Regions from separate parts of the Homo sapiens genome. Here region 2 is linked to region 1. The links are contacts of gene promoters, found by promoter capture Hi-C in human tissues and cell types (Jung and others, 2019). All regions are on one chromosome and are shown on one strand. Each heading gives the region's core, a stretch centred on a gene start or on the middle of the fragment in contact. The rest is flanking DNA. Distances are from core to core; before and after follow the strand shown. Region 1 holds the start of CCND1 (cyclin D1). Region 2 has its middle 39 kb from the start of MYEOV.

What was found. Contacts are between HindIII fragments. The study calls those that stand out against the background at their distance.
Region 2: a fragment that was not itself captured here is called in contact with the fragment with the promoter of CCND1 in region 1 in 1 of the 25 tissues and cell types used here (mesenchymal stem cells).

Annotation. Positions count from the first base shown.
Region 1 is chr11:69,637,773-69,645,361 of GRCh38, reverse strand. CCND1 (cyclin D1) reads right to left here and starts at 4,206. Exons shown (of 5, transcript NM_053056.3): 1 at 3,851-4,206; 2 at 2,116-2,331; 3 at 1,371-1,530. The coding sequence starts at 4,048. RefSeq lists enhancers at 970-1,714, 3,233-3,935, 5,443-6,381, 6,382-7,322 and silencers at 1,931-2,190, 2,321-2,380, 2,471-2,610, 7,135-7,338. The HindIII fragment of the contact is 19,039 bases long and covers 1-7,589 here.
Region 2 is chr11:69,328,956-69,336,544 of GRCh38, reverse strand. No RefSeq gene overlaps it. Among named protein-coding and RNA genes, the nearest start is that of MYEOV, 39 kb to the right of the region's middle. The HindIII fragment of the contact is 5,852 bases long and covers 1-5,695 here.

The sequences.
Region 1 (7,589 bases), core at 2,957-5,456:
TGCTGGAGCCACCCTGTAGGGAGGCTGTGCAAGAACCACGCCCCACGTTCTCTCCAGGAAACTTTGCATTTCTCTGAAGCCACTTTCAGCTCCATAAAAGGCTGTCTGGAGTCTCCGGAGGCCTCTCTCCTCTGAGGAGCACCAGCCAGAGAATGCCTCCCTGTCTGCCGCATGCCCCCCCACCCCAGACCCATCCAGACTGGTCGACATCCTTGGCATCTTCATCTGCCCACCTTGGGGACTCGCTTGGAAACGTGGGGGAGGGGTTCATGCCCCAAGCAGGTGGAGGAGGTGGGGGAGGCCTCACGCCTAAACCAGAACCCATTCTGGAATACCGGCTGCGGGCTACCGGTGTCAGAAGGGAGCTCTGAAGTAGGCTTGGGGGGCTCTGCCCTCTGGGGAGGGGAGAAGATGCTACTGCCTCTTTGATGCCCCGTGGGCCTTGTGGCCTAGGTCACCCAGAGTGAGCCCCCAAACAGATGTGACAACTGAGGCTTGACCAAAGGTGGGCCACAGCAGAGCTGGGTGGGATGGGGCCATGCTCCCCCATGAAGGTAACCAGGCCTCCTGGGCCAGGGAAGGAGGCGGTCACAGGGGGGTCAGAGGCAGGGCTGGGGACAGCAGGAGGCGGCACCCTGTGTATGTGCGAGTCTGTCCCCACTGGGTTCTGGGGCCAAGGCCATGTCAGGGAGGGGCCTCTGGGGCCATGCCAGGGGAAGTGAGGACTGGGTGCTTCTGCTGCCCACGGTGGCGGCCCAAGCTGAGAGTGCTCTGAAGCGCCCCCTCAGGGCTCAGCTGAGCCCGGCTGGCTGCCGGCACCCCTGGCAGGGCCTCAGGCAGCCGAGCTCCTCTGCTGGACACCCCTGCACTCGGCTGCCCAGAGCACGTGGTGCAGGCAGGCCGACAGCTCTCCCCGCCCCTGGAGGCGCCTCTGGCAGGTGGCCCAGCCTGGGAGAGGCCAGGAGGGGGCCTCTGCAGCTCAGGCTCCTTAAGGACACAAGAAGGGCTGGAGGTGGGTGGAGAAAGGAGGCGGCCCTGTGGCCAAGGTAAACCCCTTTCAGCATGGAGTGGCCACAGGCTGCCTGGCCTGAAGGACGAGGCCAGAGTAACGGGACACAGGCAGGCTGAGCCGTCCACACCAATGCCCAAGGTACTGCATGGTGGCCGTGAGGGAGCAAATCTCCCTCCATCCAGCGCGACAAACAATCCAGGGCCTCTGCTCACCAGAGCTGGAAGAGCGCTCTCCAGCGCAGGAGGGGGTCTGGGGACATCTTCCCAGACAGCACCCAGGTGGAGAGCAAGAAGCCGGCCAGGGTCACCTAAGGAGCCGGCTCTCAAGGGGAGGCCGGGGGCTGCCGGGCCTGCCCTACCTGTGGCACAGAGGGCAACGAAGGTCTGCGCGTGTTTGCGGATGATCTGTTTGTTCTCCTCCGCCTCTGGCATTTTGGAGAGGAAGTGTTCAATGAAATCGTGCGGGGTCATTGCGGCCAGGTTCCACTTGAGCTTGTTCACCAGGAGCAGCTCCATTTGCTGCGAACACAGGGTGAGCGGCCATCAGGGGAGGTGCGGGCCAGCCCGGGGGCGCGGGGAAGCCGGCAGCACGGGGGCCGGGCCACGCCGCACCTCCGGCTCAGAGCACTGGCCCCTGCGTCTCGTGCGGTCCTGGATGTTGGAGGGGAGGGCTGGCGAATGCTGGGGACTCAAGGGAGCTGGGGCAACACGCAATCCCAGATCAAAACAGAAAAGGCGCCCGCCGCGTGAAAAGACTCTGCAAGTGGAAACAAAAAGACCTCCCACCACCTGGAACTGGAGGCTCAGCGCCGAGCGCGGCGCTCCTCGTGCAGCCGCTGGAGGGCGCGCGCCGCCCACTTTTCGGCCACACCGCGGGGCGCGAACGCGGTGGGAGTCGCAGGCAAGCGCACACAGGGCGGCGGGACGAGGGCGGCTAGGATCCCGCCCGCTCCCCGGACAGGGACGCCCGGCGGCGGGGCCGCCCTCCCTCGGAGGAGCAGATATGTCAGAGGCGGGCCGGCCGCCACCGCCTGCACCTTCCCCGGCCCCGTGGTCCTGCGTGCGGCTCGCGGGGGGCGGGGGGCGGCGGGGTCCAGTGGTTACCAGCAGCTCCTCGGGCCGGATGGAGTTGTCGGTGTAGATGCACAGCTTCTCGGCCGTCAGGGGGATGGTCTCCTTCATCTTAGAGGCCACGAACATGCAAGTGGCCCCCAGCAGCTGCAGGCGGCTCTTTTTCACGGGCTCCAGCGACAGGAAGCGGTCCAGGTAGTTCATGGCCAGCGGGAAGACCTCCTCCTCGCACTTCTGTTCCTCGCAGACCTACGGAGGCACGGGGCCCGTGACCGCCGCCGCCAGGTCGCGCCGCCCCCCCGCACGCCCCCGCACCCCCCATCGCGCTTGGCAGGGCCGCCAGGTCTGGAGGGCGCCGAGGGGTCGGGGCTGGGGGCGGCAGGAGCTTCCCGTGATGCGCCCCCTCCCCCGCGCGTCCCCAGTACCCACCCTCCCCGAAACTGAAAGGGAAAGTCCCCGCGAGGCTGGCACGGTGGGGGCGGGAGCGGGCACAGCTGGGCGGCGTGCGCGGCGGCGCGGGCTGCCGGCCCCCGGGACCCTGGCCCGCCCTGGAGCTCCGTGGTCCCTCTGACTGGGGGTCGACACCAACTGGGGTGCGGGGCCGCGGAACGGGCCGCGGGGTTGGGCGCCGCGCCTGCGAGACACAAAGGTGGCGTCCCAGGCCGCCGCGCCGCATTTCCCCAGACGTCATCTTTTCAAAAAATATTTAAAAATATTAAAAAAATAACTAAGTGCATAAAAAAACCCTGAAAATGACCCTCGGGCGACCCTTTACCCAGGCCGGGGGTTGGGAGTTCGTTACAGGCTCCGGGGGGAGCCCCAGGAATTCAAACTCCGGGGCCCCCCCTTCCCCCTGGGCGCGGGCGGCGTTTCCCTCTCGCAAGGGCACCACGCCGCACTTTCAAAAATTATTTTAAAATACTTGCGGGCCCCTCAGGCGCCCACCGAAGGTCTGAAAATGTGCTCCCAGGCCCCCGGCTCGCTCGGAGAAGGTCCTCCAAGCCGATATCCCTGCAGACGGGGATCAAGCCCTGGCGTCTTGGGGGCCACGCGACCTTGCAGCTCGCCGTGCTCTCCGGCCCAGGCTGCCCGTTCGGGGCGCCCCGGGACTCGCTGCTTGAACAAAGGCCCCCCCTTCCCTAGCGGCGTCCCCCCAAAACTACCCATGCCGCGTCCCTGCGCCCCTCCCGCGGGCTCCCGGCAGCCGCGCGGCCCTTAGCTGCGGCCCCAGCGCCCGGCGGCCGCTCCCCGCCCCCACCCTGCCCCCAATTATTAATAAACACTTTTGCTTTGCAATAAAAGAGCAAAGATGGCGCATAATACTGGCACGAGCGGCCCTTGCATACGTGTCCATGGATATTAATTTAAAAATCAAATCTATGCCCCCTCCCCCCGGAGTTGGCGGCTCCCGGCCGCTGAGGCGCAGCCGGGCTGGGGCGCAGGCGGGGGACACAAAGCGCACCCAGCCTGCCAGCCCGCACCCTCGGGCCCATTGGGGTGCCCCTGGCACTGGCTTCTCCCGAAGGCACCCCTCCCGGACCCCCTTCTCCCCTCCCACGAAACGCTACTTCTAGCACCCCCACCCCCACCCCTTCCTCCTTCAGAAAATACCCGCAATTTTTATTTTGAAAATACGGATCCCTAGAAACACCACGGCAAACTTCAAAGTTCTAGCGGGAGAGAAGGGAGGGGGGTGAGTAGCAAAGAAACGTGGGTCTGGGCAACAAGTTGCAGGGAAGTCTTAAGAGAGCCGCCCGAAGCCCCGCACCTCCAGCATCCAGGTGGCGACGATCTTCCGCATGGACGGCAGGACCTCCTTCTGCACACATTTGAAGTAGGACACCGAGGGCGCGCAGGTCTCCTCCGCCTTCAGCATGGCCCGCAGCACCCGGTCGTTGAGGAGGTTGGCATCGGGGTACGCGCGGCGGATGGTTTCCACTTCGCAGCACAGGAGCTGGTGTTCCATGGCTGGGGCTCTTCCTGGGCAGCTGGGGAGGGCTGTGGGTCCTGGCTGGGTCCGCGCTCGGCTCTCGCTTCTGCTGCCCCGCGCTCCCTCGCGCTCTTCTGCCCCTCGCCGGAGCGTGCGGACTCTGCTGCTCGCTGCTACTGCGCCGACAGCCCTCTGGAGGCTCCAGGACTTTGCAACTTCAACAAAACTCCCCTGTAGTCCGTGTGACGTTACTGTTGTTAAGCAAAGATCAAAGCCCGGCAGAGAATGGGAGCGGGAGGGGGGCGGGGGCGGGCGCAGGGGGAGGGGGCGCGGGCGCCAAACGCCGGGAGCAGCGAGGGGCAGAGCCCAAAAGCCATCCCTGAGGCGCCGCGCCTGCCCTGCGGCGGAGTTGCCCCTGTAGTCCGGTTTTCATAGAAATGCAAATCGCCCCGCTGCAGCCTTTCTCCCCGCCAGGGAAGAGGGGTGCAGGGGGCCCCGTCCGCCTCGAGTGGGTCCCCCGGGATTTAGGGGGTGAGGTGGAGGTGGCTCTGCAGTAGGGGACAACTAGGAAGGCCGGCAGGCCACACGCAGCCTGGGGAGACCACGAGAAGGGGTGACTGGGGCGCGGCGACACCCCATATCCAAGCCGGCAGAATGGGCGCATTTCCAAGAACGCCACGAGGGCACCCACGGGCGGACAGACGGCCAAAGAATCTCAGCGACTGCATCTTCTTTCATTTTCATTAACACGTGTAAATTGCAAGAACTAATTTAGCATGCAAGGACGGGGAGGACCGGGCACACAACCCCTGTGCAAGTTTCATTCCGGCGCACAGGGGCGTCGTTGCAAATGCCCAAGGGGGTAACCCTAAAAGTTAAAGGGATTTCAGCTTAGCATGCGCTCGCTCAAAAAATAAAATAAAATAAATGCCCGAAAATTCCAGCAGCAGCCCAAGATGGTGGCCAGCATTTCCTTCATCTTGTCCTTCTAGCCTGGAGACTCTTCGGGCTGCCTTCCTACCTTGACCAGTCGGTCCTTGCGGGGGTCCCCAACTGCACCCCCTCCCTTCCCGTGCCGGCAATTTAACCGGGAGAAACACACCTCTGAATGGAAAGCTGAGAAACAGTGATCTCCATTCTGACTCATTTTTTTTAATTAAAAAAGAAATTAAATTGCTGGAAATATTAGTCCCCTCTGCCTGGGACAAGACCACCGAAGGTTCCTAATTGGTTTTGTTGGGGGTGTAGACGTCCCTTCACCTTTAGAATTTGCCCTGGGACTGAATTCGTGAGCGTGAGGGGGCTGGCAGGAGCCGGCATAATTCAGAACAATTATCAATTAAACAAACGAGTGTACTGATCTGATTTTTAGCAAAATCGATAGGTGTTCGTGGTTACATGAGAGGGTCCCCAATATTATCGCAAACTTAAGCAGATGTAAATTAAAATACACAGTTTTTAAAATTACAGGTTCTGTCTCTTTGGTGCATTAAAAAATAAAAGGACATTTTACTGTCTTAACTTTTGTTTTTATTTTTACAGTACCTGCCCCAAATTAAGAAAACTGTTCATTTACTTCCTTTTGAATATAGTTCAGTGTCATCAAACCACCGTACCCTCTTAACAGTAAAAGCTCAAAGAAAACTGATAGAAAAAGCCCTCTCCCCTTCGCCAGGGTGCTCACAGCAAGATGCGACCCCCCCCACCCCCACCTTTCAGGGTGAATTCCTCCCGCGCCCCCTCCCCCGCCGGGAATTAGGATTACTAATATTCCGGGTCCTGGGGGGGTAATTACCCCCGGATTCCGCATGGGGAGCGATGGGTTGCCCCAGCAGGGAGCACCTACGGTCGTGCCCCCCCCCACTCCCCGAGCACCCACAATCGCGTTGGCCCCCGCATAGCCAAGCCTCAGAGCATCAGCCCGCGCACAAGGGCGGCCCAGCTGCTTTTTCATTCATAAAATCCCGACCCGGCGGCCGCCTGGATGATTTATGGGGCCCGGAGCTATCACCCGGCCTCTCCCATCCCGTGGGGCGAGGGGCCCCGAGCCCCGCGTGCGCCCTGGCCCAGCCCGAGGCGCGAAGCGGGCCGAAGTCGGCTAGGGGCAGCAGGGCATAAAGAGGCTCGCCCACTCCGGCACAACCGGCTCTGGGTCCAGGAGGGAGCTTCACCCCCCCATCCCGGGCGCAAGACAGAGGAAACTGGAATTAGCATGAGCCAATGGGGGCGCGGCGCTGTTACTAGGCGGACCGGGCAGATCTCGACTAGGAACTTCGTTGATTTCCCGGCTCAGGGACGAGCGCAAAATTGCAAGCCCGGTTAGCGAGCGTAAAGAGCCGTCCAGGAACCCGCGGGGGAGGCGCTGGAATTTGGGGCCCGGCGCTGGAATTTGGGGCCCGGCGGGGAGCGCCAGCTGCCCAGCCCCCACCTGGGGGAACCCTGCTTGGCGGCCCCCGGGTCCCCCGAGGGGGCCAATACCTCTGGGCTTTTGAGGGTCATTGCTTCAAGAAGCGCAGAGAAAGCATTTTGATTTTATTTTTTCCAAAGAGAAAAGCAACTTTAAAAAACTTTTCGGTTGCAGTTTTACTTTACACTGTCTTCTTAAAACCCACCACGAAGCAGGAACTGCGGATTCTGGGCTCATTTAAAGTGCTCTGTTCTTATTTCTTGGTGACCATTTGGAGACAAAGGGCAAGTGGCCCAGTCGGGAGGGTAACCACGTTGTTTGAAAGAAAATCCAAAATTAACTGAAATCACCTTCACGCTTTCCTCGCCCCCTGGCCCCCGCCCCGGTGACCGCGGCCTGGGCGGATGGTCGGTCAGGAGAAAGCGAATTCCGCTGCAGGCGCGTGTTCGCCACCGTCCCTGGCTGTGGGAACCTTCATTCAGGCGGGGGAAGGGAGCGCGTTCATTCAGGAACCGGCGCGCCGCGACGCAGACCCCGGGACTCAGCGCGGCTGCGCGCCGCGGGGCTCGGGGCTTGGGTTGGGGGCGGGTGGTGCAGGGACCAGTCCCGACCTTTCGCCAGCGACCTCCCGCACCCGCTTTTCCACCAGGGCGGCTGGCGGGCGGGCGCACCCAGGTGGGGTCACCTGCAGCCGCATACCTGGCGGCGACTTGAAAGGACTTGGCTCAGGCTCCGCGAGTTTTCCATTGTTAAGCCCTTAAGTCGCCCGGGAAAACGCTTCCGAAAGCCGGCCCCTGGGCTCCGAAGGCGCTCGAGCTCCCCTTCCCCCCACACTGCTTGCTTTTGGGGTGCGCGTGGCGGCCCACGTGCTATGGCAGCTCTGCTTCGCTTACGTAGCGCCGATCCCAGGCGCCCCAAAACTGCGAGGTGGGCCGGGGCGAACTCCGGCCCCAGTGCCCACCCGAGACAGCCACACGCTCGGCACATGGACAGCCGCACCGCCCCCCCCATCGCCCCAACCGCAGACGTGCGTTTCCGCTCCAGATCAATTAGTTTCAGCCACACACAGACCACCCTGCCACCGCCCCTCCCGTGCCCCAGTCGTCTGTCCGGCGGGCTGCGGGGAAACGAGACCCCTCCCCTAGCTCCGAGGGCTGCCGGCAAGGTGTG
Region 2 (7,589 bases), core at 1,520-4,019, 310 kb after region 1:
GAGGTCAAGGCTGCAGTGAGCTGAGATCGCACGCCTGGACTCCAGCCTGGGTGACAGAGTGAGACCCTGTCTCACAAAGAAAGATCATTGAGCTTCACTCTTAAAAGATGTACAATGTATTGAACGTAAATTGTTCCTCTGTAAAAACTGATATTTTTTTTAAAGTCCTAGGCATGGGGCTTGATATCTTGCCTTCCCTCTCTGCCCCAGGCTAGATAACGTAACATATAGCTAAGTTCGTGTGCCCAAATCTAGACATCCCTCAGTGGGCTTGGCCAGGGCTGGATTCCAGGTACGAGTAGACAGGGCCATCATTAGCCCAGCATGACTCAGCATTCGGAAGCTACATTGCCTGGCAGTTTTGCTGTGGTATAAACCACCGCACCTCTCAGAGGTGTATAGCAGTGAAGGTTTATGTCCCCTGCACTTTGCATGGGAGCCACGAGTCTGCCCACAGCTTGCGTGCCAGGGCTCATGCTGAAGGCACAGCTCCTGGTGGCACATGCTCTTCTCACGTCAACCTCAATGGCACTTAGCGCTTGCACTCAGACCAAGGGTCAATGTTGTCCTCTCATCTTCCATTGACCAAAGCAAGCAGGTGGTACTCCCCAGCAGCACAGGGACAGGAATGGAGGCGCTTTCTGCAGGCGGCACTGCCAAGCCACATGGCGTTGGTGGGGACATCCCATTCTCTTAAGGGAGGAGACAGTCATTGTTGGGAAAAGAAACACAATCTGCCACATCTTCCAATCAGCTTTGGCAAGTCATGACACTGACACACTTTGCTCTTTTCTCTGCGTAGCTCCCGTGTCACTCCCTCCATGGGGTGGGACAGAGCAAGGTAGAAGAGTGAGGAGCTGTCCCCGTCCCCTGCTTGTGAACCCCAAGGCTGCATTCTATCGCACAGGTTCTCCGACTGCATTCCTAGCCCTGGGTCCTTGCAGGCAGGAAGGGGGTGGCCCTGTGTGGGGAAGGTGGGGAGTCCACCGGTCCCAGCAGCCGTGTTTCCATCACCTCTGTGTGTTAGGAGATTCCTCACCAGATTCTGATGAAAAGGAAGTCTCTGCCACTGAAAGACACATTTACAAACAGCTGTATGGTCTCATTCAGTTTCCGCAGCCCTGAGGAGCAGGAACTATCATGTCCATCTCCTGGATGAAGAGCTCCAGAGAGATCAAATGACTCATCCAGGGGTGCCCCACTGGCATTGAATGGGGGGTCAAAATGTCAACCCAGGTGTGTCCACCGAGGCTCTTTGCCCCACATCAAGGCATCCCTGGGCACAGGCCACGCTGTGGGGCACTGACTGCCAGCCTCCCAAAGGTGTCCACACACTGATGCCCGGAACTGTGCACATGCAATCAGGGTCGTGCATATGCAAACAGATTCATGCATATGCAAACAGGGTCATGCATACGCAAACAGAGCTGTGCATATGCACACAGGGCTGTGCGGATGTGAGTAAGGAAATGATCCCGAGCTGGATTATCCAAGTGGGCTCTAAATTGAATCTCAGGGTCCTTAGAGAGGAGGCAGGGAGGACAGACAGAAGCAAAGTGCTGTTACAACAGAAGCCGATGGGTGAAATGATTGTGGTGTGTGGTGAAGCTATGCTGTTGTTTTGAACATGAAGGAAGGGGCCACAATCCAATGAACACAAGTGGCCTCTAGAAGCTGGAAAGGGCCCCCAGTGGATTTCCCTCCTGAGCCTCCAGAAAAACCAGCCCTGCTGACTCCTTGATTTTAGCCCAGGGAGACTGATTTCAGACATTTGACCTCCAGAATGTATGGGAATAAATTTGCATTGTTAGAAGCTACTTCATTTGTGCTAATTTGTGACCGTAGCCACAGGAAGCTAATACACACACCAAGCAGTGACAACCTCTCTCTAGGGCATAGAACTTTTCACTGTACCAAGCATATCCTCTATGGCATTAGACTCTCACAACCCAAGCTGAAGACACTGAGCTTGGAGAGGGGAAGGGACCTGCCTAAAGTCACACAGCCACTGAAGGTGGCACCAGGACTGGGCCCAGGTCTTAGGTTCAATGGCTGCAGTACAAAGACCTTGAGCATTAGACCAGGGTTGGCGAGGAATGTAGCAGGGGCTGGTGAGCACCAGTTGCCTTTTCTCCTGTCCAGCCTCTCTTCCCAATATGCCTGGAGCTGTCTCTCAACCTCTCCAGCTTGGGGGTGTAGTTTTCCTTAGATTCACTAATCTACCCCATATGCATCCAACAAATGCCCCCTTTGCCTAGGTCAGCTGGAGTTGGTTTCTGTTCCCTGGACACAAAGAACCACAATTGAATCCCATGGTCACCCCAGGGTATGGGGGAACTTGGGGCCTCTCCCACTGTAGCCAATCACCTTTCCCACCCCATCTCAGCTTCCTGAATCATAGGGTGAATAGTTAAGCAACCACCAATTGGGCTTCCCACCTACACTAATCCCAGAGGCCTGGTGGGTTTATCCAGCCCGTATCAGGTGTCCTGGGAAGGCTTGCTCTGTGGCCTCATAGCTGTCCCATGACAAATTTATTAAATGCTCTGGCAGGACAGACTCTCATGGGGATAGACATCTGGCTGCAGATTGGACTGGCAAATGGACAAATGGACAAAGGGACCAGAAAGACTTCACGATGTGAGACTTTAAGCTTTGGCCCAGGGCAAGAGAGGGGGCCAAACAGAAAGGAGGTGTGGGGCAGAGAATCAGAGAAGCTGGTGTTTCCTCAGTGCCCACACAGACCTGCCAAAGTTCTAGTGCTTTAGTGCATTGTAGCTGTCTTTATAGCCAGCCTGACAGGATCCCCATTATACAAATGGACAGACAAAGGCTCAGGTGATGCTTTCTCACCCAAGTCACACACAGCCAATTAGTGGTGGGCTCAGAATTTTAAGTCATGTCTTTCCAATCTCAAAGCTCATGCTTTTTTCATAGCATCACACCTTGAGAAGCCACGAGGTTGCTGCCAGGGCTGAATCTGGCTCGTGGCATTCAGGCCAATTCAGTAAGTGCATATGGAGCACCAGCTGTGGACAAGGGGCTGTGAAAGACTCAAGGGAGAGTCCTGTGGTTTTGAGCTCTGCCCTCAAGTAGGTGACCATCTGATGGGGCAGACAGAAAAGACATGCCCTGCTTCTGCAAGAAGAGTGTGGCCCAGGCAAAGGATGCCTGTACATGGGGAAATATTTCAAGTCATTGGCAGAGGCTGGGGAAGGCTGCCTGGAGGAGGGGACATTTGAGCTGCAAAGGATTTTTACAAGTGGGAAAGCCAAACTTTTCTCAACAACTAAATGGGAACTATAATAGCTGCCTCTCACTGCTGTGCACACACATATACAGACACAAACACAACTGGACACCTAAATGGTATGAAAACAATAGTACAAAGGTGAGACATGGAATGAAAGTATACTGCAATAAATTTCTTTTACTAGATGTTAGGTAGTATAATATCACTGAAGGATAATATTATTCAAAGATAGACTGTGATAAGTTAAAGATGTATACTATAAACGCTTTAGCAACCACTAATATAATACAGCAAAGAATTACAGCTAATAAACCAACAAATAAGATAAAATGAAGGAATGAATAATACTCAATCACAAAGAAGGTAGAAAGGAGGGAAAATGAAACACAGAACAAGTAATACAAATACAAAACAAAAATCATGATGGCAGAATTAAATACTATTATATCAACAATCACATTAAATGTAAAGGTCTAAACACCTCAATTAAGAAACAAAGATTGATAGGTTGGATAAAACAAGCAAGACCCAATTACATGCTGCCTACAAGAAGCCCACTTTAAATATAAAAAAAATAATAATTTTAAAGCAAAAGGATAAAAAAAGATGTACCACACTAATTACCATGCTAATGTACTTTGCTATGTTCATATTTGCTACTTTGCTACACTAATAGCAAAGTAGATTTTAGAGGAAAGAATATTGCCAGGAATAGTCATTTCATAATGACAAAAGGTTTCAATTCTCAAGTGAACATAACAATTCTAGATGTTTATATGCCAAATAAGACCTTCAAAATACATGAGGCAAAATGAATAGAACTACAAAAGAAATAGACAAATCCAGTTATAGTAATAGGTTTCAACAGCTCTATGATTGACAGGGCAAATGTACAGAAGTCAACAAGAATATAGGGCTGGGCATGGTGGCTCACACCTGTAATGCTAGCACTTTGGGAGGCCGAAGCAGGCAGATCACCTGAGGTCAGGAGTTCTAGACTAGCCTGGCCAACATGGCGAAACGTCATTTCCACTAAAAATACAAAAATTAGCCAGGTATGGTGGTGCATGCCTGTAGTCCCAGCTCTTCCGGAGGCTGAGGCAGGAGAATTGCTTGAACCCAGAAGGTAGAGGTTACAGTGAGCCAGGATCACACCACTGCACACCAGTCTGGCTGACAAAGTGAGACTCTGTCTCCAAAAAAAAAGAAGAAGAAGAATGTAGAAGACTTGAATAACACTAGCAATCTAGCAATCAATGTGACTCAACTGGCATGTTTAGAACACTTCACTCACGACAGCAAAATATAAATTATCTTCAAACACACAGAACATTTTTCAAAAATATATCATAATCTCATCTCAATAAATTTAAAAGGGCGTGAAAAATCTCAATAAATTTAAAAGGATACAAATCATTCAATGCATGTTTTCTGGCCAAAATAGAATAAAATTAGACACCAAATAATAGAATGATATCTGTAAAATCCCCAAATATTTGGAAACTAAATAACACTTCTCTGTAAAGCACAGTTTAAAGAAATCAAAAAGATAATTAGAAAATGGAAATTGGAAAACATTTTGAAATATTTGAAAATGAAAACACAACCTACAAAGTCTGTGGGATGTGATTAAACCAGTACTCTAAGTAATTTATAGCACTAAAATATCCCAGCTTTTACCTGAAGAAACTAGAGAAAAAAGGACAAATCTAACCAAAGAGAAACAGAAAAAAAGGAAATAATAAAGATTAGAGCGGAAATCAATAAAATAAAAAAAATAGAATCAATGAAACCCAAAACTGGTAATTTGAAAAGATCAATCCGACTTACAAACATCAAACCCTACTCATCAGAAAGAAAAGAAAGAAGACAAATTACCAATATGAGAAATGAAAGAGGTAGCATTACTACCGATTGCACACATATTAAAAGGAATATGATGAATAATTGTATGCGAAGAAATTTGACAATTCAGATGTAATGGACAAATTCCTTGAAAGACAAAAACTAATAAAGCTCACTCAAGAAGAAATAGATAACCTGAATAGTCCATATTTTTTAAGAAGTTAAAAACTTTACTACAAAGAAAACTCTAGGCCTCACTGGTGCATTTTACAAAACACTTAAGAAAGAAATAATTTCAATCTACACAAAATTTGCCAGAAAATTTAAGAGAAAAGAGTATTTCCAACTTATTCTATGAAGCCAGCACTACTGTAATATCAAAATCATACAAATATATTACAAGAAAAGAAAGCTACAAACTAATATCCCTCATGAAATAGATGCAAACATTCTAAACAAAGTTTTAAAAATCAAGTCCAGCAACACATAAAAAAATAATACATATGATCCAGTATAGTTTATTTTAGGAATACAAGTTCGGTTTAACATTAGAAAACAATGTAATTCATAATATTATTGCGAAAATATTATATTTACAATATAAAAGCACATTGTCTCAATGGATGCAGGAAAAGCATTAGTCCAAATCCAACATATATTGCTGATAAAAACTCTCAATAAACTAGGAATAAAAGGAAACGTCCTCAACCTGGTGAAGGGCATCTGTGAAAAACCCGCAACTAACATCATACTTAATAGTGAAAGACCAAAATCTTTCCCTCTAAGATCAGGAATAAGGCAGGGATGTGCTCTCTAACCACTTCTAACCAATATTGCATGGAAGGTTCTTGCCAGTCTAGTAAGATTTTAAGAAGAAAGAAAAAAGAAGGAGGAGGGAAAGAGAAGGGAAGTAAGGGAGGGAGGGAGAGAGGAAGTGTCTTTGAATCAGAAAGGAGCAAATGAATCTGCTTTATTTACAAACAATTCGACCATCTACAGAGAAAATCTTATGGAGTCTATGAAAAAAGCTACTAGAAGTCACCAACGAGTTTAACAAGTTTGCGGTATAGAAGATCCATATACAAAAAGCCATTGTGTGTCTGTATAATAGCAACATGACACAACCGGAATAAAAACATTTACAGAAACACGACAAAAATAGGAAATACACACATAGACAAGTCTGATAAAAACCTGTGTGAAACTGAAATTTGCTGAGAGAAATTAAAGAATACCAAAATAAATTGAGAAATAGACCATATTCATGGGTCAAAAGATGCCAATTCCCCCAAAATGGATCTACAGATTCAAAACAATCTCAATCTCAATACCAGTAGTTATAACCCAGCCATTTCACTCCTCAATATGTACCCAAGAGAAATGAAAGCCTATATCCATACAAAGGCTTATACACAGATGTTCATAGCAGCCTTATTGTAATAGCCCCAAACTAGAAACAACTCTGATGTCCGTTAACTGGGGAGTAGATAAAAACAAACCAGTGCATCCACTTAGTGAAACAGTACTCCGCAATAAAAAGGAACAAACTAGTCATACAAGTGACAATGTAGATGAACCTCAGAATACTTATACTGAGCAAAAGAATCCAGGCAAAGCAAGAGTGCATACTTTATGACCCTATTTATATAAAATTCTGGAAAATGCAAACAACCTATCATGAGAATTAGCAGAGAAGCGTTTCCCTGGGGATGGGGGTGGGGAGGAACATGGGAAACTTTGGGGGTTGTGGACATATTTATTGTCTTGATCATAGTGATATTTTCATGGGTGTATAAAGATGTCAAAACTTACCAAATTGTACACTTTAAACACATGCAGTTTATTGTATGTCAATTCTGCCTCAACAAACAATTGAAAGGGAACAAAAATATCTTTCTTTTAGGTATGAAGATAAGAGGAAAGAAGACTGTATGGTCTTAATGTTAGGATTTTGTTTTTAAACCAAGAATTTAGTTGGTTGTCGGGGTATTCTCTTAGCTTTTTAGCCCTCTAAGTTTTTCAGCAGCATCTCTTTCTAGGCCCAATTGGTTGAGATAGAAGCAACATTCTTCACCCAATGAGAGGCAGGGGCCCCCTTTTTCACCCATTGTAAGATCTAATCACCATCTATTTTGGAGGACTACTCCAGCCAAAGAGTCTAGTTGGTCTTGGACTGTCTTTTTTTGTTGTTTGTTTGTTTGCTTGTTTGTTTGAGACCGAGTCTTGCTGTGTCGCCCAGGCTGGAGTGCAGTGGCATGATCTCGGCTCACTGCAACCTCCGCCTCCTGGGTTCGAGCAACTCTCCTGCCTCAGCCTCCAGAGTAGCTGGGATTACAGGCATGTGCCCAGCTAATTTTTGTATTTTTAGTAGAGACAGGATTTCACCATGTTGGCCAGGCTGGTCTCGAACTCCTGACCTCAAATGATCTGCCAGCCTCGGCCTCCCAAAGTGCTGAGATTACAGGCGTGAGCCACCATGTCCACCCTGGTC